Linked DNA regions of Homo sapiens: all the other regions are linked to region 6. The links are contacts of gene promoters, found by promoter capture Hi-C in blood cells and fetal thymus (Javierre and others, 2016). All regions are on one chromosome and are shown on one strand. The core of a region is centred on a gene start or on the middle of the fragment in contact, and the rest is flanking DNA. Distances in the headings are between cores, read along the strand shown. Region 1 overlaps ZMAT3 (zinc finger matrin-type 3). Region 2 overlaps LOC124906307 (a long non-coding RNA gene). Region 3 has its middle 9.2 kb from the start of ZMAT3. Region 4 overlaps ZMAT3 (zinc finger matrin-type 3). Region 5 overlaps ZMAT3 (zinc finger matrin-type 3). Region 6 holds the start of MFN1 (mitofusin 1).

Region 1 (3,615 bases), core at 106-2,605, 290 kb before region 6:
AGGGTTAGGAAATGTTTTCGATATCATACATCTAGCGAGTAGTAAGACCACAACATCAAATACTAGTCTGACCTCAAAGTCCGCGATTTCAGGTTCTTAATATCCTATAAAACAGATGCTATGAATTGAGAATAAAAAATCTGGAAGTCTTATTTATTTAAATCTGTGTTAATTTCCTGATTTTGACAATTGTACTGTAATTATGTAAAATGTTAATGTTTGAAATGTAACATTAAAATTTAAAAATTAAAAAATTCAATATGAGGCTACCCTCTTTGGGTCCCCTCCCTTTGTATGGGAGCTCTGTTCTCACTCTATTTCACTCTATTAAATCTTGCAACTGCATTCTTCTGGTCCGTGTTTGCTAAGGCTGGAGCAGAGCTTTCGCTCACCATCCAACACTGCTGCTTGCCGCCATCGCAGACCCGCCGGCGACTTCCATGCCTCCGGATCCAGCAGGGTGTCCACTGTGCTCCTGATCCAGCGAGGCGCCCATTGCTGCTCCCAATTGGGCTAAAGGCTTGCCATTGTTCCCACACGGCTAAGTGCCCGGGTTCATCCTAATTGAGCTGAACACTAGTCACTGGGTTCCATGGTTCTCTTCCATGACCCACGGCTTCTAATAGAGCTATAATACTCACCACATGGCCCAAGATTCCATTCCTTGGAATCCGTGAGGCCAAGAACCCCAGGTCAGAGAACACGAGGCTTGCCACCATCTTGGAAGTGGCCCGCCGCCATCTTGGGAGCTCTGGGAGCAAGGACCCCCCAGTAACATTTTGGCAACCACAAAGGGACCTCCAAAGCGATGGGAAACATTCCCCCCAAGGCAAAAACGCCCCTAAGATGTATTCTGGAGAATTGGGACCAATGTGACACTCAGACGCTAAGAAAGAAACGATTTATATTCTTCTGCAGTACCGCCTGGCCACAATATCCTCTTCAAGGGAGAGAAACCTGGCTTCCTGAGGGAAGTATAAATTATAACATCATCTTACAGCTAGACCTCTTCTGTAGAAAGGAGGGCAAATGGAGTGAAGTGCCATATGTGCAAACTTTCTTTTCATTAAGAGACAACTCACAATTATGTAAAAAGTGTGGTTTATGCCCTACAGGAAGCCCTCAGAGTCCACCTCCCTACCCCAGCGTCCCCTCCCCGACTCCTTCCTCAACTAATAAGGACCCCCCTTTAACCCAAACGGTCCAAAAGGAGATAGACAAAGGGGTAAACAATGAACCAAAGAGTGCCAATATTCCCCGATTATGCCCCCTCCAAGCAGTGAGAGGAGGAGAATTCGGCCCAGCCAGAGTGCCTGTACCTTTTTCTCTCTCAGACTTAAAGCAAATTAAAATAGACCTAGGTAAATTCTCAGATAACCCTGACGGCTATATTGATGTTTTACAAGGGTTAGGACAATCCTTTGATCTGACATGGAGAGATATAATGTTACTACTAAATCAGACACTAACCCCAAATGAGAGAAGTGCCGCTGTAACTGCAGCCCGAGAGTTTGGCGATCTTTGGTATCTCAGTCAGGTCAACAATAGGATGACAACAGAGGAAAGAACAACTCCCACAGGCCAGCAGGCAGTTCCCAGTGTAGACCCTCATTGGGACACAGAATCAGAACATGGAGATTGGTGCCACAAACATTTGCTAACTTGCGTGCTAGAAGGACTGAGGAAAACTAGGAAGAAGCCTATGAATTACTCAATGATGTCCACTATAACACAGGGAAAGGAAGAAAATCCTACTGCTTTTCTGGACAGACTAAGGGAGGCATTGAGGAAGCATACCTCCCTGTCACCTGACTCTATTGAAGGCCAACTAATCTTAAAGGATAAGTTTATCACTCAGTCAGCTGCAGACATTAGAAAAAACTTCAAAAGTCTGCCTTAGGCCCGGAGCAGAACTTAGAAACCCTATTTAACTTGGCATCCTCAGTTTTTTATAATAGAGATCAGGAGGAGCAGGCGAAACGGGACAAACGGGATAAAAAAAAAAGGGGGGGTCCACTACTTTAGTCATGGCCCTCAGGCAAGCAGACTTTGGAGGCTCTGCAAAAGGGAAAAGCTGGGCAAATCAAATGCCTAATAGGGCTGGCTTCCAGTGCGGTCTACAAGGACACTTTAAAAAAGATTATCCAAGTAGAAATAAGCCGCCCCCTTGTCCATGCCCCTTACGTCAAGGGAATCACTGGAAGGCCCACTGCCCCAGGGGATGAAGATACTCTGAGTCAGAAGCCATTAACCAGATGATCCAGCAGCAGGACTGAGGGTGCCCGGGGCGAGCGCCAGCCCATGCCATCACCCTCACAGAGCCCCGGGTATGCTTGACCATTGAGAGCCAGGAGGTTAACTGTCTCCTGGACACTGGCGCAGCCTTCTCAGTCTTACTCTCCTGTCCCAGACAACTGTCCTCCAGATCTGTCACTATCCAAGGGGTCCTAGGACAGCCAGTCACTAGATACTTCTCCCAGCCACTAAGTTGTGATGGGGAACTTTACTCTTTTCACATGCTTTTCTAATTATGCCTGAAAGCCCCACTCCTTTGTTAGGGAGAGACATTCTAGCAAAAGCAGGGGCCATTATACACCTGAACATAGGAGAAGGAACACCCATTTGTTGTCCCCAGCTTGAGGAAGGAATTAATCCTGAAGTCTGGGCAACAAAAGGACAATATGGATGAGCAAAGAATGCCTGTCCAGTTCAAGTTAAACTAAAGGATTCCGCGTCCTTTCCCTACCAAAAGCAGTACCCCCTTAGACCCGAGGCCCAACAAGGACTCCAAAAGATTGTTAAGGACCTAAAAGCCCAAGGCCTAGTAAAACCATGCAATAGCCCCTGCAATACTCCAATTTTAGGAGTACAGAAACCCAACAGACAGTGGAAGTTAGTGCAAGATCTCAGGATTATCAATGAGGCTGCTGTCCCTCTATACCCAGCTGTACCTAACCCTTATACTCTGCTTTCCCAAATACCAGAGGAAGCAGAGTGGTTTACAGTCCTGGACCTTAAGGATGCCTTTTTTGCATCCCTGTACATCCTGACTGTCAATTCTTGTTTGCTTTTGAAGATCCTTGGAACCCAGTGTCTCAACTCACCTGGACTGTTTTACCCTAAGGGTTGAGGGATAGCCCCCATCTATCTGGCCAGGCATTAGCCCAAGACTTGAGCCAATTCTCATAATACCTGGACACTCCTGTCCTTCGGTACGTGGATGATTTACTTTTAGCTGCCCATTCAGAAACCTTGTGCCATCAAGCCACCCAAGCACTCTTAAATTTCCTCACTACCTGTGGCTACAAGGTTTCCAAACCAAAGGCTCAGCTCTGCTCACAGCAGGTTAAATACTTACGGCTAAAATTATCCAAAGGCACCAGGGCCCTCAGTGAGGAACGTATCCAGCCTATACTGGCTTATCCTCATCCCAAAACCCTAAAGCAACTAATAGGGTTCCTTAACGGGTTTCTGCCGAATATGGATTCCCAGGTACGGTGAAATACCCAGAACATTCTATACACTAATTAAGGAAACTCAGAAAGCCAATACCCATTTAGTAAGATGGACACCTGAAGCGGAAGTAGCTTTCTAGGACCTAACGAAGGCCCTAAC
Region 2 (3,678 bases), core at 25-2,524, 340 kb before region 6:
TCAGGTCTAAAGCTCAGCTCCGTTTTGCATTGAGTTTCCCAATCTCCTTGGCTTTTAGGAATACCAGGGGTTACTTTTTACTGTGAAAGAACACTTAACCTTTGGGTGTTGGATGGCTGATAGGTCACTGCAGTTTTAGAGGTGGCTGACAGTTGTTCAGTGAATGGTTATTACTGAAGTGAGGCTAATTGTTTGAGTATTTAGATAAGAAAAGCACAGTTTGGACACTTGGAGGCTGTAGGAACACTTGCTATCAAGGTATAAAATTCCCATGGGGGATAGGCTGGTCACGGAGTGGGCTAATTGGCATTAGGTTTCCCAACAGCCTCAAAGAAAATGTCCTTGCAATGAGGTCCACTGTAGAATTGTTGCACAGCCTAGCCCCATGACATTTCCCTCTTGGCCTTTTGCCTCAGCTCTGGGGCACCTGGGATTCAGTGTAAAAATGGGATCCTTGGTTTCTGGGGATCTAGGTGCTCTGCCTTCCAGCTAAGCCTGCTTTCTACATATAAAGTACTGGGCCCTGAAAACTACAAAAGCCTTGTAAGCCCTATTCACTGCCCTGAGCTCCATGGTACAGTAAAAACACAGAAACTAAATTGGAAGTTACGAATCTAACTAAAATTGGTCTCCTTATAAAGTATGTGATGAATTCCTATGATTTTGTGTTATCTTGATATCTATTTTTAAACTTCTTCTGTGTCTGTAATGCACACCCAAACTTTTTCTTGAAAAAGCTTAAATTCTCTTTTGTTTGACAGTAAATTTGCTACCCTGTTTCCTTTAAACTTAGTAGGGACTTAAACCATGTGGCATAGATAAATTTTAACTTGTTACATTTACAGAGGCACAGTTTAATCCAACAGTACTTTTAAACTAGGGAGTTTTACCTGTCTCACGGCAAAATTTGAAAATCAAATCTATAAAATCTGTGTTTGTCTGCATTTTTATGTATACATTTGTACATTTTTGTGTTTATATATAGTCTACATGGTACAAAATTGACATAAATGATCCCTCATAAATTCAGTAAATAAGTCCAAATGATTTTCAAGTTCACATGACTAGCAATCTTAGATAAATACAGCTAGTTTTTAAATTGTTGGTATAATAAAATAGAAATGTCTTCAGAATTTTAAGCATTTTTGCATGGTTCTACCGGTCAAACCAATTTATACTGTCTCTACTACATGTTTTAAAGTCATAAAACTTTTGCTTCTGTGATTTTTTGACTTTATTTTTTGTATTTGTACAAATTTATGGGGTACATGAGAAATTTTGTTATATGTATATATTAGCAATCAAGTCAGGGTATTTAGAGTATCCACCACCTGAGTATGATACCCTTTTGCTAATACAGTCATCCTACTCTGCTATCAGACATTATAGAATAGATTATATATATATATAAAATATATCTTACTGTATGTTTGTACCCTTTAGCCCACTTCTCTCTATCCTCTCCAGTTTCCCTCTCCCTACCATTCCCTTCTCCCTACCACTTCCCTCTCCCTACCATTCACTCTTCCCAGCCTCTGTTATGTGTTTTTGTACTATACCTCCATGTATTCAAATTGCTTAGCTCCCACATTTTGGTAATTATTTGTCAGTGTGCTAAAGCTATGTGGGCTGGTTTCTGGGCTCCCCCAAATCCTTGCATGCAACTTCCTGTGAGTTTATGTCCTTGATTTTGAGCCTTTAGATTCTGGAGTCTAGACAGGTGGCCATGGTGAGGCCTGGGGAAATATGTGTGTCACCAATGTCTGGGCTACAGAACAGAGCTAAGCCCACTATGGCCCCATCTTTCCTGGCCAAGCTTGGTCTCCTGGGCAAGTTGGGAAATGTTGAATCCTTCAGGCATTGTTATCACAGCTCTGTCCTCTGTCCTGGGCTCTCCATCTGGTACACAACAATGGAAATTTCTAACTTTCTTGGTTTTTCACTGGAAATGAGGGTTACTCATTAGTAGTAGTTAAAATTATAGTTAATATATATAATTTAAAATATTAGATATAAAGAAAACTATATATATACACAGATATAAAGAAAACAATATACAGATATAAAGAAAAAATATACAAGATAGGATGTGTTTTTGGCAGGGAAGTTTATAAATGAGACATAAAGATGTAGTTTTTGTTCATGGAAATGCAATTTTGTCTAGTTTAGAGGTTATTTAAAGGTTATTTCACATTGAAGGAATAAAAGAAGAATGATATAGATAAAACAGAATGAGGATAGGAGGCAGAGTAAGATGGCAGAATAGAAGGCTTCAATGATCGTCCCCCCGACAGGGACACCAATTTAACAACTATCTACACACCAAAAAGCATCTTCATAAGAACCAAAAATCAGGTGAGCATTCAAAGTACCTGGTTTTAACTTCATATCACTGAAAGAGGCACCGAAGGGTAGAAAAAACAGTCTTGAGTTGCTGACACAAAATCCCTCCATCCCCCAGCAGTGGCAGCGCAGTGCAGAGAGCATTTCTGTATCCTGGGGAAAGGAAGAGCACAGCGATTATGAGGCATTGAACTCAGTGCTGCCTTTCTTACAGTTGAAAGGAAAACTGGACCAAACTCAGCCAACATCCACCCACAGAGGGAGCATTTAGAACAGCCCTAGCCAGAGAGGTATCGCTGATCCCAGTGGTTGGAACTTGAGTTCCCACAAGCCTCACCACCATGGGCTAAAGTGCTCAGATCTAAATAAACTAGAAAGGCAGTCTAGCCACAAGGACTGCAACTCATAGGAGAGTCCTACTGCTGAGCAGGGCCCAGAGACAGTGGACTATGGGAGTATGTGACCTACTGAAACACCTACTAGGGCAACTAAGTCAGTGCTGGCATCACCTCTCCCCTAAACCCAGGTTGAACAGCTCAAGGCTCCAAAAGAGATCTCTTCCTTCCACTTGAGAGGAGAGGGAAGAGTGGGGAGGACTTTGTCTTGCATCTTGAATACCAGCTCAGCTACAGCAGGAAAGGGCACCAGTCAAGATCGTGAGATCCCCATTCCAGCCCTAGCTCCCAGATGACATTTCTAGACACATCCTAGGCCAGAGGGGAATCTGCTGTCTTGAAGGAAAGGACCCAGACCTGGCAGCATACATCACCTGCTAACTGAAGAGCCCTTGGGTCCTAAACAACCAGCAGTATTACCCACATATTATGTTGAGGGCCTTGGGTAAGCCTCTGAGACTTACTGGCATCAGGTGAGACTCAGAACATTCCCACATCTGATGGCTACAGGGCAAAACTCCATCTGCTTGAGGAAGCAGAGGGAAAAGTAAAGAGTACTTTGTCTTACACCTTAGGTACCAGCTCAGCCAAAGCCGGGTAGACCACCAAATAGGCTCTTGGGATCCCCATTCCAGGACTTGGCTCTTGGATGGCATTTCTGGACCTGCCCTGGGCCAGAGGGGAGGTCACCACCCTGAAGGGTGAGTCCCAGGCCAGGAAGCATTCACCACAAGCTGACTAAAGAGCCACTGGGTCTTGAGGGAACATTGGCAGTAGTCTGGCAAAACTCCCCATGGGCCTTTGGTGGCAGTGGCCACAGAGCGAGACTTCTCTGCCTTTGAAAACGGGAGGGAAGAGTGTTAAGGACTGTGTCTTGTAGTTTGAATGCCAGGTCAGCTGCAGTACAATAGAACAGCAGGTAGACATCTAAGGTTTTTGA
Region 3 (3,823 bases), core at 1,124-3,623, 270 kb before region 6:
TTTTTTTTTTTTTTGAGACAGAGTCTTGCTTTGTCACCCAGGCTGGAGTGCAGTGGCGCTATCTCGGCTCACTACAACCTCCGCCCCCTCCCCCTACCCCCAGGGTTCAAACGATTCTCCTGCCTCAGCCTCCTGAGTAGCTGAGATTACAGGCACCCACCACCACACTCAGCTAATTTTTTGTATTTTTAGTAGAGACGGGGTTTCACCATGTTGGCCAGGCTGGTCTCAAACTCCTAAGCTCAGATGATCCCCCTGTCCCAGCCCCCAAAGTGCTGGGATGACAGGCATGAGCCACCGCACCCGGCCAATATTTTTTTACTTACAGAAATTTTAGGCCACGCATGGTGGCTTATGCCTGTAGTCCCAGCACTTTGGAGGCCGGGGCAGGAGAAGGCCTTGAGCCCAGGAGTTTGAAACCAGCCTGGGCAATATAGTGACACTTCATCTCTACAAAAAATGAACAAAATTAGGCAGGCATGATGGGATGCACCTGTAGACCTAGACACTCAGGAGGTGACGGAGGGAGGATTGCTTGCACCCAGGAGGTTGAAGCTGCAGTAAACTGAGATTGGGTCACTGCACTCCAGCCTCGGTGACAAAGCAAGACAAGACAAGACAAGAAAGAGAGAGACAGATAAGGAAAGGAAGTTTGACTCATCCTATGGGTCTCGGCTTCTATGACACCTCTTCTGTGAAGTCTATTCTAACCCTAAAGTTGCAGTCACCAGTCCCTCCTGGGTGCATATATGCCAAGTATCCCATACCTCCCTTCGTAGATCTGAGAAAGAAGCCAACATAATACCCTGCTCCTGTGCTGAACAATGTTAAAACCAAACATAGTTTCCCATCTTCTGTTAAATGATTCTGAGACCAGCCATACTTTCCCGTACCTGTGTTTAACAAAACTAGAACAAGCAGAACAAAACTTCGTTACTTGCTTCTGGAAATTTTTGCTCCTAAAAGATCAGAATGTGAACCTATTAAAAGAGCTACTTGTGAAGACGAACTGCTTGCTCTTTTAGAGACCCTTGCCTCACTGAAACTGCCCTCTGGAGGGGCCCACATGGCATGTGACCTTAGAAGTAGATCGTCCAAGTTCCAGTCAAGCCTTTAGATGGCCGCCTCCTGACTTGACTGCAACCTCATGAGAGACCCTGAATCAGAACCATCCAATTAAATCAGTCCCAGAGACCTAACCACAGAGACCATGTGAGGTAATGAATGTTGTTATAAACTGCTAAGCTTAGGGTAATTTTGGGGTTTTTTGTTTTTTGGTTTTTTTTTGGTGGGGGGTTGTTTGTTTTTTGAGACGGTGTCTCGCTCTGTCACCTAGACTGGAGTGCGATGGAGCGATCTCGGCTCACTGCAACCTCCATCTCTGCCTCAGCAGAGGCAATTCCTCTGCCTCAGCCTCCCCAGTAGCTGGGATTACAGGCACCCGCCACCACTTCCAGCTAATTTTTTTGTATTTTTATTAGAGACAGGGTTTCACCATGTTGGCCAGACTGGTCTTGAACTCCTGACCTCGGGCAATCCACCCATCTCGGCCTCCCAAAGTGCTGGGATTACAGGCGTGAGCCACTGTGCCCAGCCAGCTTGGGGTAATTTTTTAGGCGGAGATTAATATAAGTCCCCCTACCTTTTTGTGACTCTTTAAACTATGTATACAGATTACTTCGTTAAAAATGTGTATCTCTCATTCCTAGTTTTTTGTTTGTTTTATTTTTACTTTCCTTGCTTAGTATTTGTTGTTTATACTTCTTGATTAACTTTAGAATCACATTGTCAAATTCCTCAACTTCCATTGCGATTTCAATTGAATTTTGTCAAATCTATACATACATTTGTGGATAAGTTAAAATTTTACACTATTCTCTTTCCTACCACTGTACAATGATTGAAGACTTTCATGCTCTTCACTAACATTTTGTGATTTTCTTCATTGTATGTACAATATTTAATGAAATTCTAAAAAAAAAAGCATTTTCTTTTATGTAATATTTCTGGCATAGAGAAAAATTACCAAAGTCTTGAATTATATTCAAGTGTTTAAAATACTTTATTGTCTACTTGTACTATTGCTAAAATTCTACACTCTTCCTTGTGGACAGGTCTATCAATATACAAGAGAGAAAATGAATATTTTTAATACAATAGCAATCACATTTCTTTTCTGTATCCTGTGAGTTATATGATTATCCAATTTAGGTCTTATGATCTGAAAGCAGTAGAAATAATTAGCAACTTTCCTAAAAACTGTATTCCTTTTCTGATCCAATATTCTTTTCCCTCTCTCAACCTACACAACTTCTCTGCTACTTCTAAAATTACTAGAGTTAACTTTTGTTTTAATTCTGTGTCTCTTATTCAAATTGGTTAGCTTTCATTGTTGCTTTGCCATTGACATCGCTAGTGTGAACTTAATTTTGTATACCCATTATGACAAAGAAAATCAAACCATATTTCCCTTTGACCTTTTACGCTTGCAGTCACAATACTATTTTGAGGAAATGCTTGTTCATTATGCATACATACATTCTTATCTGCATCATTTTGTGTATGTGTTTATCAGTGCTGTCCAACAACGAGAAGAATGATACATTTATTTAATGTTGGAATGTAAGGATACTACAGTAAGAGCCTACTATGCCAGGCACTATACCCTAGCTAGGTACTCTAGCCAGGGCTTTTATACCCTAGCTCATATCATCCTCATGTTGACCTAAAGAAAAAAATGATGCAAATTTAATATAAGTAGAGAGTTTAATTGGGGCAAGTTTGAGGATTGCAACCTGGGAGCAGAGATTCATGTTGCCCTGAATATATGTTCCAATTAGCAGCAGTTACAAGTAGGCTTATAAAGCAGAAGAGGCAGTTCCTAAGTTGTTTACCAAGAATTTACATTACAAAACATGAGAGCCAGTGAAGTGGCTCACATCTATAATCTCAGCTACTCGGGAGGCTGAAGTGGCAGAATCCCTTGAGGCCAAGAGTTTGAAAGCAGCCTGGGCAACATAGCAAGACACCATCTCTAAAAAAAAATTTTAAGCTGTTGTTTGACTATACATTGTTCTTTGTAACACAAATTCCAGAACATTGAGATAGTGAGTGAGGCAGCTAGTCAGGAACAAATGCCTTTAAATAACTGCCCCAGGCACAAGGGGGTTAGCGCATGAATGACTGAAGTCCCATATTCATGTTGTTCTTGGCCTAATAAGTTTTGTACACCTTGCATAGCTCAGACTGCTCTGAGATATTTTTCTTTTCTCAGTCACAATAATTCCAGTGAGGTAGATATTATTTTACTTATTTTAGAGATGATTCTGAAATGTTAGGTTACCGTTCAAAGTTATTCAGCTTACATCTCCCTGTACCTTTGTTTCTACTAGATCAGAGCTTCTCAGACTTGAACATGCATGCGAATCACCTGGCAATCTTTTTAAAGTACAGATAATGTCTCAGTAGTCTGACGTTGGGATTGTGATTCTGCATTTCTAACAAGCTTCCAGGTGATGTCACACTTTGAGTAGCAAAGCATAGATCACAGTGAATTTAAGGCAATGTGACTCATTGGAAGGATTACAAACTTTGGAATTTGAGCATCTGAATTCAAATTTGAATGCAGGTACTTAAGGCCTTCTGACTTAGCATGGAACTTCACTTCCCTAATCTAAAATGCAGAAAATAAGACCAGCTTCATAGGATTGTTAGGTTGAAAAAACAATGTATTTCCAGTACCTGACATGTAGTAGAAGCTCAATATTGATTTGTCTTTCCTTGGGAGATTAGAATGTTGCTATAAATCTTCTAGTTATTCAAT
Region 4 (3,703 bases), core at 990-3,489, 310 kb before region 6:
GAGATTGAGACAACCGAAAGACATCTTAATGAATCCAAGAGACAGTGCAATGTGTGGCTTAGTGACAGCAACTGGAGACAGACAAATTCCTAGGCAGACAGGGATGGGTCCCTGTGAAACCCAACCTCATGCCAAAGACAGTTTAAAGACTGAAAACTGAGCTGCCAGTTGCAGGTGGAGTCCACAACGAGAGTGAGAACTTCCTCGATGCCTTTTAGGCAATCAAATGGTGCTTTTTCCAAGCCGACCCGTGAACCAATCAGCACGCACTCCCCCATTCTGAGCCCATAAAAATCCCAGACTCAACCCCACAGATGGCAAACCTCTTTTGGGTCCCCTCTCACACACAGGGCTAATCACTCTTGGGCCCCCTCTCTGCTGAGAGCTTTCCTTCTATTGCTCAATGAAATTCTTCTCCACCCTATTCACTCTCCAGTGTCCATGTACCTTATTCCTCTTATTCCTCTTGGTCGCAGGAGAAGAACCCAGAATAGGCCAACCTGTAACACACACCCATTCACTGAGCTGCGGGTGGTGGGACCGACTGAGCTGTAACATGCCCCTGTTCGCCAAGCTGCAGGTGGCAGGAACAATACAAAGCTGCAACATTTCTTGGGAGGTCAAATCTTGGGACTCCCCGGATGAGAGCTGTAACACCCCTTGGGACTCTGCCATTACTGACATCTCTGAGTTTTCGGGCACCACCCACATTCCCCTCATCTAGACAACGACACCCAATGCAGAAGCTGCTGGCAACACACCCAGTGGAGCCATGGGCTGAGTGCAGATCCCTCAGCGGGCGCAGGATCCAGGCCAAGGCACAAGCCGAGCACAGCCTGCCAGGCTGAGTGGGCGGAGTGAGCTCGGTGGAATGAGGCCCCAGGCAGAGGACACAGCACCCACAGAGATTTCCGGCTGGTGAAGCAGCACCAAAGGAATCCTTACACTGCAACCCTCCCTCCTGCTCACTGAGCAACGGGGAAAAAAAGCCAGTGTGCCATTTCCTCCCGCTTGCTGAACTACAAAAGCTGCAACATTAGCACTAAGGAAGTCAAGGCTAAGAAGGTTTAGAAGTCTTCTAAAAACAGGTGAGAATTTGAATCTACAACTCTGGCGGAAGATAACAGGGTTAAATAGTTACTGACTACCCTCTATGTTCTGGCAACCATTCTAAGAAAAGGAGATAAAACAGTGAACAAAGGCAAAGTCTCTGCCCTCAAGAAGCTTTTCTAGGGGACATAAACAGAATATATACATGTACATATATATATGTACACACACACAACCAAAGAAAAAAGAGTTACTGACAACTGCTCTGCAAAAAATAAAACAGGATGATATAATAGATAATGGACAGGGAGAGAGTGGGGTGGGCCGACAAGGCTTTTCTGGGGAGATACATGTCAGCTAAAAGCTGAAGCATGAGATGGCTCCAGCCATGCAATGTAGAGAAAGGGGGAAGAGCTGGGCATCAAGAGACCCACTTGCTGTGTTAAGTCTGAGATCCCTTTCAGATGTCCAAAGAGAGACCAACCTGGAGTTTACGAACGAGGTCAGGTTAGAGATAGAATCTGAGGAGTTATCAGTATGTAGGTGGAATTTAAAACCATGGAACTAGGGCCAGGCACAGTGGCTCATGCCTATAATCCCAGCACTTTGGGAGGCTGAGGCAGAAGGATCACTTGAGTCTAAGACTTTGAGACCAAACTGGGCAAAATGACAAAACCCCATCTCTAAAAAAAGAAAAATGAGGCAGGCATGGTGGTGCAAACCTATGGTCCCAGCTGCTGGGAGCACTGAGATGGAAGGATCAGTTAAACCCAGAAGGTTGAGGTTGCAGTGAGCCATGACTGCAATGCTACACTCCAGCTGGGTGACAGAGCGAGACCCTGTCTCAAAAAATAAAATAAAATACAAGATGGCCAAATAGGAACAGCTCTGGTCTGCAGCTCCCAGCGTGATCAATGCAGCAGACGGGTGATATCCGCATTTTGAACTGAGGTACCTGGTTCACCTCACTGGGACTGGTTGTACAGTGGGTGCAGCCCACAGAGGACGAACTGAAGCAGGGTGGGGTGTTACCTCAACCGGGAAGCCAAGAGGTCAGGGGATTTCCCTTTCCTAGCCAAGAGAAGCCGTGACGGACTGCACCTGGAAAAACAGGACACTTCTGCCCAAATACTGCGCTTTTCCCAAGGTCTTAGCAACCGGAAAACAAGGAGATACTCTCCCGTGCCTGGCTTGGCAGGTCCCACGTCCACAGAGCCTCACTCACTGCTAGCGCAGCAGTCTGAGATCAAACTGCAAGGCAGCAGCCTGGCTGGGGGAGGGGCCTCAGCCATTGCTGAGGCTTGAGTAGGTAAACAAAGTGGCTGGGAAGCTCGAACTGGGCAGAGCCCACCACAGCTCAACAAGGCCTACTGCCTCCAGACTCCACCTCAGTGGGCAGGGCTTAGCTGAACAAAAGGCAGCAGACAACTTCTGCAAAGTTCAATGTCCCTTTCTGACAGCTCTGAAGAGAGCAGTGGTTCTCCCAACATGGTGTTTGAGCTCTGAGAATGGACAGACTGCCTCTTCAAGTGGCTCCTTGACCTCCATGTAGCCTAACTGGGAGACACGTCCCAGTAAGGGCCAACAGTCACCTCATATAGATGGGTGCCCCTCTGGGATGCAGATTCCGGAGGAAGGATCAGGCAGCAATATTTGCTGTTCTGCAATATTTGCTGTTCTGCAGCCTCCGCTGGTGATACCCAGGCAAACCGGGTCTGGAGTGGACCTCCAGCAAACTCCAACAGACCTGCAGCTGAGGGACCTATTAGAAGGAAAACTAACAAACAGAAAGGAATAGCATCAACATCAACAAAAAGAACGTCTACACCAAAACCCCATCTGTAGGTCACCAACATCAAAGACCAAAGGTAGATAAAACCAAAAAGATGGGGAGAAACCAGAGCAGAAAAGCTGAAAATTCTAAAAATCAGAGTGCCTCCTCTCCAAAGGATCATAGTTCCTCACCAGCAATGGAACAAAGCTGGACAAAGAATGACTCTGACGAGGTGACAGAAGTAGACTTCAGAAGGTCAGTAATAACAAACTTCTCCAAGCTAAAGGAGCATGTTCGAACCCATCGCAAGGAAGCTAAAAACCTTGAAAAAAGGTTAGACGAATGGCTAACTAGAATAAACACTGTAGAGAAGACCTTAAATGACTGATGGAGCTGAAAACCATGGCATGGGAACTTCGTGACACATGCACAAGCTTCAATAGCCAATTCGATCTAGTGGAAGAAAGGGTATCAGTGATTGAAGATCAAATTAATTAATGAAATAAAGCAAGAAGACATGGTTAGAAAAAAAGAGTAAAAAGAAATGAACAAAGCCTCCAAGAAATATGGGACTATGTGAAAAGACCAAATCTACGTTTGATTGGTGTACCTGAAAGTGATAGGGAGAATGGAACCAAGTTGGAAAACACTCTTCAGGATATTATCCAGGAGAACTTCCCCAACCTAGCAAGGCAGGCCAACATTCAAATTCAGGAAATACAGGGAATGCCACAAAGATACTCCTTGGGAAGAGCAACCCCAAGACATGTAATTGTCACATTCACCACGGTTGAAATGAAGGAAAAAATGTTAAGGGCAGCCAGAGAGAAAGGTCGAGTTACCCACAAAGGGAAACCCATCAGACTAACAGCGGATCTC
Region 5 (3,736 bases), core at 953-3,452, 330 kb before region 6:
TATATTGCATATATAAATTGATTATATTTGTAAGAGTATTTTACATGTAAAACACCCCCAAAAGATTAATGGGTATATGCTTTTTAATAATGTGTTTATTTCCAGCAGTGTTTATGGTACTAAGGCCAACTTTCTTAAAATTTGAAGGGAAAATAAATATTAAAATCTACCAACAAAATTGAGAACTCACTCCAGTCCCAGGCTAACTCCAGTGATGGGGAGAACGGGCAGTGTGGGCAGCTAGGTTGATTCTACTGCCAACCTAAAAGCTTACAGTACTTGCATGATTTCCAGAAGACCATGGCAGACTGTGTGCAGACTGATGAATGGAGAACCCACAGTCATCGAGAATCGGCATCAAAATAACGTCTCAGTGATGACAATTTACCTTCTTCCCTTGATCTTCAACTCATAACCAAACAATTTTCAGACAAGACTCAGAAACCGTTTTATTAAACTGGAACACAAAATGCGTGTTATAATAATGTCAAGCCTTTATCAGAAATCAGTACATAAGTGAGGATACACAGCCAAAATGAGCCATCAACAAAAGCAGTATAAATTTTAAATAAGTTTCAGATTTCTATACTCAATATGCTAAAGAAAATAAAACCGAAAGAGTAGTTTCAATTTCACAATTCACAGTTGATTGGTTTTAATCCCATGACACGTTTGTCATTCTGCAGCCCCAGAACACAGACTTCCAAAGCAGTGACTGGCACTCCGACCCAACAGCATACACAGATCTTAAGCCTCTGTATGACATTTAGAGAAAATTTTAATAAACAACCCTAATTACACACAGTTTGGGCTGACATTTTTTAGCTATATCCTTTATCAAAGATAGTTCTAGTGAAATAGCAAAAGCAGTTTTAAAAGTTTGCCATGCCATTCAATAAAGGGTTCTAAAGCCTCCCTTGGTTTTACATTTTATTCTCTAATTTAAAACAATAACTGCATTAAAATGCAACCTTAATGGTGAAAGCAAAATCGGTTTTGCTTCTGAATCTAGAGCATATTTCCAAGGAGAAGCAACTTATTGTCCCAGCAGATATATGGAATGCTTTAAAGCAGGATCTGACATACTCCAGTAAGGCATTTCAAAGCAGACACATCATACCCAAACTAAATCATTATGGTCAGTCAAGGATACCACAGGTGAACACCAAGTAACGCAGAGTTAACGTGAAATTCTTACAAATGACACACGATTTACAAAACCCCAGAAAGGTACTCAGGTACCAAAAGAGGGCAGAACAATGACCAGCCACTCCAAAAGAGTTTTGTTCCTATACATGCCATATTTGCAGAGTAGAAACAAACTGCCCTATTTGCGCTTTGCCCTAGGATAATATCACTCATTCTGACATGTGGAGTTACTCTTCCTTAAAAAAATATATCATGTAGAGAATACACAAATAATAATAAATGATATAGAACATTTATTATTTTCACTAGTGAGGGGGTCACTTAAGCACTTACAAAGACTTATAAATGAATCATGAAGGTCATCAAAATGCAAAAACATCCAATAAATGTTGCATTATTAGTATTCAACAGTGCAGCAAGATTTTTAGCAACTGCGTCGGGCTTAATTTGGAACTATGGCCATGAGAATATGTTTAAGTTCAAAGAACTGCCAGATGTCTAAAAAAAAAAGTGTAATTAGTAAAAATATGGATTTTCCCTCCAAGGGCCCAAAGGAAGTGTTCAGTTACTTTGGAAGCCATGAATTTTATCAAACACACACAAGAATATGAATCTGGAACATTTCAATTCTGATTCAATTCTACCCATTGAATCTTCATGACCTGGAGAAAGTCACTTAAAATTCTTTAGATTTTATCTAAAGAATCTTATCCACAAAAAGTGGGCATAAAAATAAAGGCATATGTAAAAATAATTTTTTCTAAACATGACTACAATAAAGCTAAAGATGGTTACTAAGGCTTACAATTTCAACAACTCATTGTACAGTACAATCATTTTTAATTCTGCTAATTATAGCTGGAGGAAGTGTGGATAATTACAATTCTCAAGGAATTCAAATCAAATTCTTTAGAAAAATTAATAGTTTCAACTTACTAAGCTACTTAATCTGCTCTCCTAGAGTTGTTTAAAACAGCTAATTATATAGGGGTTTGACCCTTTACTCCCCTCTACCTTCTGGTAGAGCAGCTGAAAGTAGTGAAAGGAGAAGTGACAAGAGGGAGAAAAGCAGCAACAGATTGAAATGAGGTATTCGCTGATTTCATAAACCCCAATCAGTAATTTACAGTTTTTTGAAGAAGCTGCATAGTTTGGCAAAAATACATTATCAGAAGTGGGGAAAAGAAAAATTATATTGAAACTTTAAAATTTATGACAAGCACTTAAAAATGACCAATTCTAAAATAAACTTGTGTTTGAAAGGAATTGTCCTCCCTCACCCTAAGTACACACAAAAAGAGAAACTGGAAGACAAAAGTCCACAGGAGGAAAAAAAAAAAAGTATGTTAATTGGCTCAGATTATCAACTTCATACACCACTTTCAAAATAGATATTTAAACGAATACTAAACCTTAATTAATGACACCCATGCTAAGAATTTAGGGCAGTGTATTGCCTAAAATTTACTTTGGAATGTTCTTTAAAAAAAAAATCTGATGGATCGATGGATGAAAAGAGGGATAGAGAATATGAACAGATACATGGCAATACAAGTATAGTCAAATGTTGATGGCAGAATCTAGCAGTGGTTATACTGCAAAGTTTTTTCAACTTTGATATATGTCTGAAAATTTTCTTGAGAAAATGTTGAGGAACATGTTAACATTTCTATAATAAAATCAGTCTAGCAGGGCGTTTCTAAGATTCTAAGTAGTCAGGCAATTTAGAATTTTAAATTAATTAAACTAGGGAAAATTTTGCTTTTAATGGCTTCAAACCTGATTTGTGAAGATGCTTCATTTAATATAGAAATGAACTAACACAATTAATAATTATTGTGCCAGTCTCTTCGCTTTAGCTGCAAATACATAATTTTTCCCCTCTCTACAGAAGACAAGTTTGAAAATGACCACTAGAATAAAGAATTTTTCCAAACATCAGTGTCAAGCTCTTCCAATCAACCACACTGCCATTCACTAAGTACAAACGCAACACAGATCAAGGTGAAAAATGATCTCTGACTTCTGCCAGCTTGGGAAAACTGGATTCATTTTCAGAATGTATGGTTTCTGATCAATAATGACAATAGTTTTACTTGATATCAAATTGACATTTATTTAAAAAAGGGAAAAAAAAGACGTAGAACAGAATTCACACAGACCTTTGTTATTCCAAGCTCCTATTTATGAATGGTGATTAATAGCAATAATTCTGTCTCTCTTCTCTCTGTGAAATGCTAACACTTGCTAAAGGCACTCAGATTCTGGGCTTAACGGAGACAAGGTCACATGGGACCATAAGCCAGTACGTTTTTTGGTAGCTACCCAGAAAGGAAGTTTACAAATGTTCCTCCCATTCATAACGGGAAGAAAAAGTCAAACAGCTATCAGTAGAAGCGTTTTATGAGAAGCTATTTACACAGCTATTTGTCCATTCAGCCAGAGTGACAGTAACTGCTCACAATGGTAGGGGTTCTCCCCTGCCAAGAAAGCAAAAACAATAACAAAACACTTTTTATCATATATGAAACTCCTGTACAATGATTTGGCTAGAAGAAAAAAATAGTTGGTAAGGTCAAATTTGTTT
Region 6 (4,018 bases), core at 1,311-3,810:
AGAAATGGTTGATAATTTAAAAAATAATAAATATTAGAGCTTTGCTTATAGCAAATAAAAAATAAATGTTAGGACTTATTATAAATATTAAACTTTAGCAAGTACTTCTTCTGCATGTATTGAGATAAATGTGGGTTTCCTCCTTTGGTCTGTCAGTATTATGGATTATATTGATTTCTGTTTGATGATTTCTGTATTCCTAGGAAAACCCTACTTGGATAAAAAAATAATTCTAATACAACGTTGGCCTCAGGTAGCTAATATTTCCTATGTTTGCCTCTGTAGTCCATAAGTGTGAATTTTTTTTTTTTTTTTTTCTGGAGACTGAGTCTTGCTCTTTCGCCCAGGCTGGAGTGCAGTAGCGTGATGTTGGCTCACTGAAACCTCCGCCTCCCGGATTCAAGTGATTCTCCTGCCTCTCCCTCTGGAGTAGCTGAGACTACAGGCACCTGCCACCACGCCTGGCTAATTTTTGTGTTTTTTATTAGAGACAAGGTTTCACCATATTGGACAGGCTGGTCTCGAACTCCTGACCTCATGATCCACACGCCTCATGATCCAAACTGCTGGGATTACAGGCGTGAGCCATCGCACCCGGCAAGATTAATCTTTTCGTTAAACATGTAATAGAAAGTTACCCCGAAAATCATCTAGACCTGGCTAGTTTTGAATATGTGGGAAACTTAGCCTATTCGAGTTTTCTATTTTTTCTCGGTCTAATTTTGGTATTTGATGTTTTCCCAGATTTTATACTTCATCTAAGCTTTTCAATTTGTTGGCATTTATATATATATCTATAGTTATTCTCCCCTTAATTTGTGTCCTTTCATTTTTTATGTTCTTGAACAGATTTGGCAGTGATACATCAAATTGATAATTTCTTTCAAATAACGTTAGTTTTTGTTAATATCTATGTTGGTTTTAGCGTTTATATTTTAATTCTTTTCCTTCTTTGTGTTTACTCTCCTGGCTTTTTGGTAATATGTGTGTTCCACACACACACAAAAGCAATGGATTAAATTTCTTATTACTTACTATATTAAACATTTAATTACCGTGCTATAATTTATAGCCTGTAATATGTCACTCTTGCTTTAAAATGCAGTAATTATATTAAATATAATTATTAAGTACAGAACTAATAAAAGGATACCATCATGATTTTTAAAATTCAAACAGAGTAAATGTTCCCTTTGAGACTACCTATGCTCAGAACTGATGGATTAGCTGGCACGACCCAGACCGATAAACTGGCTCATCTGACCTAGTGTCCCCCAACCCAGGAACTGACTCGTGCAGAAAGACAGCTTCCACTCCCTGCGATTTCATCCCTGACCAATCAGCACTCCTGGCTCAGTGGCCTCCCCCAACCCACCAAATTGTCCTTAAAAATTCTGCTCCCCAGTGCTGCTCGGGGAGACTGATTTCAGTAATAATAAAACTCCAGTCTCCCATACAGCCGGCTTTGCGTGACTAAGTCTTTATTTGCAATCCCCCTGTCTTGTATCAGTTCTGGCTAGTCAGCGGGCAAGGTGAAGGCTTTCCTTGGGCGGTTACCATCCGAAGCTTTAATTTTAAGTATAATGGCAAGCTGTTGGAAAGCTTTTTTTTTTTTTTTTTTTTTTTTTTTTTTTTTTTTGAGATGGAGTCTGGCTCTGTCGCCCAGGCTGGAGTGCAGTGGCGCGATCTCGGCTCACTGTAACCTCCGCCTCCCGGGTTCAAGCAATTCTCTGCCTCAGGCTCCTGAGTAGCTGGAACTACAGGCGCCCGCCACCACCACGCCCGGCTACTTCTTGTATTTTTAGTAGAGACGGGCGTTCACCGTGTTAGCCAGGATGCTCCCGATCTCCTGACCTTGTGATCCGCCCGCCTCGGCCTCCCAAAGTGCTGGGATTACAGGCGTGAGCCACCCCGCCCGGCCTGGAAAGCTTTTTAAGTTCGGAAAGTAATACGATCTGGATTTCTTTTCTTTTATTTATTTATTTATTTATTTGAAAAAATGTCTCGCTCTCTTGCCCAGGCTGGAGTGCAGTGGCACGATAAATCACAGTTCGCTGCAGCCCCGGGCCCAAACAATCCCCCCGCCTCAGTCTCCGAAGTAGCTGGGACCACAGGTGTGTGCCACCACGCCTCGCTAAGTTTTTAAAATTTTTTTAATTTTTCATTTTTTAATTTTGTAGAGACGGGGAGGAGGAAGAGGGTCGGGGGCGGGGGGGGGGGCGCCTCCCTATGTTGCCCAGCCTAGTCTCGAACTCCTGGGCTTAAGAGATATCCCACCCCTTCGGTCTCCCAAAGTGCTGGGATTATAGGCGTCAGCCACCACCATCATTGGAAGCTAGCTAAGCCTAGGCTGGGCAGATACTTGGACACTTTGAGGGGAGAAGGGAGGGGAAGAAGTTGGAAGGGGGAACGGAAAACCACTCTCCTGGTAGCAGTCTCTGCCCACAACAAACCTTGCCTTCTGCCCTTAAGGAAAATGGCGCCTGGCATAGATGCGCTTCCGGCCACGGAGCCAAACAGAACAGAGGAGGCAAGAGGCCGGAAGTGACCGCCCTTTGCCACTCCCCCTGCCTCCTCTCCGCCTTTAACTTCTCGGGAAGATGAGGCAGTTTGGCATCTGTGGCCGAGTTGCTGTTGCCGGGTGATAGTTGGAGCGGAGACTGTGAGTGCCGGCTGCCTCGACAGCACGTTTGCGACGCTCGGAGTGACCTTCGAGCGACTGGGGACCGGGGGCGGGAGTCGTGCATGCAGCGTTGTGTGACGAGGCGCCGCCCGCCGCGGTCCTGTGGGAAAGGAGAGAGCCAGCTGTCGGGCGAACGGGGCTGGCGGCCGAGTCGAGCCCACGGAGCCCACGAGGCCGTGCTCGGGGGTGGGATTGGGGGATCCGGACCTAGACGGTCGTGCGCGGGGCGGGGGTGGGCTCTGGCCCTGACTCCTGCGCCCGGTGTGGGAAGGTGGGAGGCCTTTTCTAAGGCAGGTGTTCACACCGGCCGGACCGGGGCGTTACCCCCACCCGGCTTTTCCCACGCAGCTCCTTCGCGCGGTCATTTCTTGACTCTCTGGAAGAATCCGCCTTCTTTATGGCCACTGTTCCTTTCCATGTACACACCAGGATTAGACCGTGATTGTTTGTCTTTGGTGTCTTTTTCTTGAGAAACCACCTATGCTTTCTTAAACTTATAGTCCTTGAAGTTTCTGGTACTTTGGCTGGAAGCGTTAATGCCCTCTTGAAGCCTTACCTTTCTAAATGTCAGCCTCACATTGTGATCTTAGAATTTTATTTCCTCACTCTGCATATCCACTCCTACTCACCTAGAGCTTCAGGTTGAGAAACTTAGTAACTTCCTTATTGTGTGTGAATTTGGCTTCGCCTCACTAACCCTGTTCCCTGATGTACTTTAGAGTCACATGCAGTGACAAACTTAGTCACAATTAGTTTCGTCTTCACCAAAGGGAAATTGAGTAGAAATTGCAACCAAGATTTTGGCTAATAGATTTCACTTATTTTAGTGAAATATCATTCAAAAGTCGTCTCTAACTGTCTGACTAGAACACTCCCAAAAAAGAATTACCTAAAAACATTTTGCCAGCATAATTTATTTCATTGGGGAGTTGATGAATGTCACTGGTGTGTCATCAGTTTGCATGTCTATCATCCACTTTAGTTGGTGCTTTTCTAACTTTATCTCCCTCTAGTAGCATAATGGCAGAACCTGTTTCTCCACTGAAGCACTTTGTGCTGGCTAAGAAGGCGATTACTGCAATCTTTGACCAGTTACTGGAGTTTGTTACTGAAGGATCACATTTTGTTGAAGGTTAGTTCTTCTTAAGTTTTTAAAGTAATTACTGTTGAAAATATATAAAAGTGCTTATTCTTTCAACGTTAGTTATTGAACACATGTATAGGGCATTATACTGTATACTATGAGAAGTACCATAATGAATAAAACCCCTTTCTAACCTCCAGAAGGGGAAAATTAAATGGTATTAATAACAACTAAGAACTTTAGTATATTAA

Evidence for each region. The method cuts DNA at HindIII sites, captures the fragments that hold promoters and counts their contacts. A CHiCAGO score of 5 or more calls a contact.
Region 1: a contact is called between a fragment that was not itself captured here and the fragment with the promoter of MFN1 in region 6, in 1 of 17 cell types (total CD4 T cells). The highest score is 5.4, in total CD4 T cells.
Region 2: a fragment that was not itself captured here is called in contact with the fragment with the promoter of MFN1 in region 6 in 2 of 17 cell types (non-activated CD4 T cells and total B cells); the score reaches 5.2 in non-activated CD4 T cells.
Region 3: a contact is called between a fragment that was not itself captured here and the fragment with the promoter of MFN1 in region 6, in 2 of 17 cell types (monocytes and non-activated CD4 T cells). The highest score is 5.5, in monocytes.
Region 4: a contact is called between a fragment that was not itself captured here and the fragment with the promoter of MFN1 in region 6, in 1 of 17 cell types (naive CD8 T cells). The highest score is 5.2, in naive CD8 T cells.
Region 5: a contact is called between a fragment that was not itself captured here and the fragment with the promoter of MFN1 in region 6, in 7 of 17 cell types (fetal thymus, total B cells, naive CD8 T cells and 4 more). The highest score is 10.7, in fetal thymus.

What each region holds. Positions count from the first base shown.
Region 1 is chr3:179,054,327-179,057,941 of GRCh38, forward strand. The region is part of intron 2 of ZMAT3 (zinc finger matrin-type 3); the gene reads right to left. Among named protein-coding and RNA genes, the nearest start is that of ZMAT3, 16 kb to the right of the region's middle. The HindIII fragment of the contact is 4,552 bases long and covers 1-3,615 here.
Region 2 is chr3:179,001,689-179,005,366 of GRCh38, forward strand. It overlaps LOC124906307 (a long non-coding RNA gene), which reads right to left. Exons shown (of 3, transcript XR_007096179.1): 1 at 2,373-3,678. Among named protein-coding and RNA genes, the nearest start is that of ZMAT3, 68 kb to the right of the region's middle. The HindIII fragment of the contact is 1,079 bases long and covers 736-1,814 here.
Region 3 is chr3:179,079,087-179,082,909 of GRCh38, forward strand. No RefSeq gene overlaps it. Among named protein-coding and RNA genes, the nearest start is that of ZMAT3, 9.2 kb to the left of the region's middle. The HindIII fragment of the contact is 2,260 bases long and covers 1,244-3,503 here.
Region 4 is chr3:179,036,681-179,040,383 of GRCh38, forward strand. All of the region lies in intron 2 of ZMAT3 (zinc finger matrin-type 3), which reads right to left. Among named protein-coding and RNA genes, the nearest start is that of ZMAT3, 33 kb to the right of the region's middle. The HindIII fragment of the contact is 2,034 bases long and covers 1,223-3,256 here.
Region 5 is chr3:179,016,800-179,020,535 of GRCh38, forward strand. It overlaps ZMAT3 (zinc finger matrin-type 3), which reads right to left. Exons shown (of 6, transcript NM_022470.4): 6 at 424-3,736. Among named protein-coding and RNA genes, the nearest start is that of ZMAT3, 53 kb to the right of the region's middle. RefSeq lists an enhancer at 499-608. The HindIII fragment of the contact is 3,871 bases long and covers 268-3,736 here.
Region 6 is chr3:179,345,149-179,349,166 of GRCh38, forward strand. It overlaps MFN1 (mitofusin 1), which reads left to right and starts at 2,561. Exons shown (of 18, transcript NM_033540.3): 1 at 2,561-2,662; 2 at 3,697-3,815. The coding sequence starts at 3,704. RefSeq lists enhancers at 2,270-2,799, 3,133-3,352 and a silencer at 2,853-3,012. The HindIII fragment of the contact is 3,693 bases long and covers 1,927-4,018 here.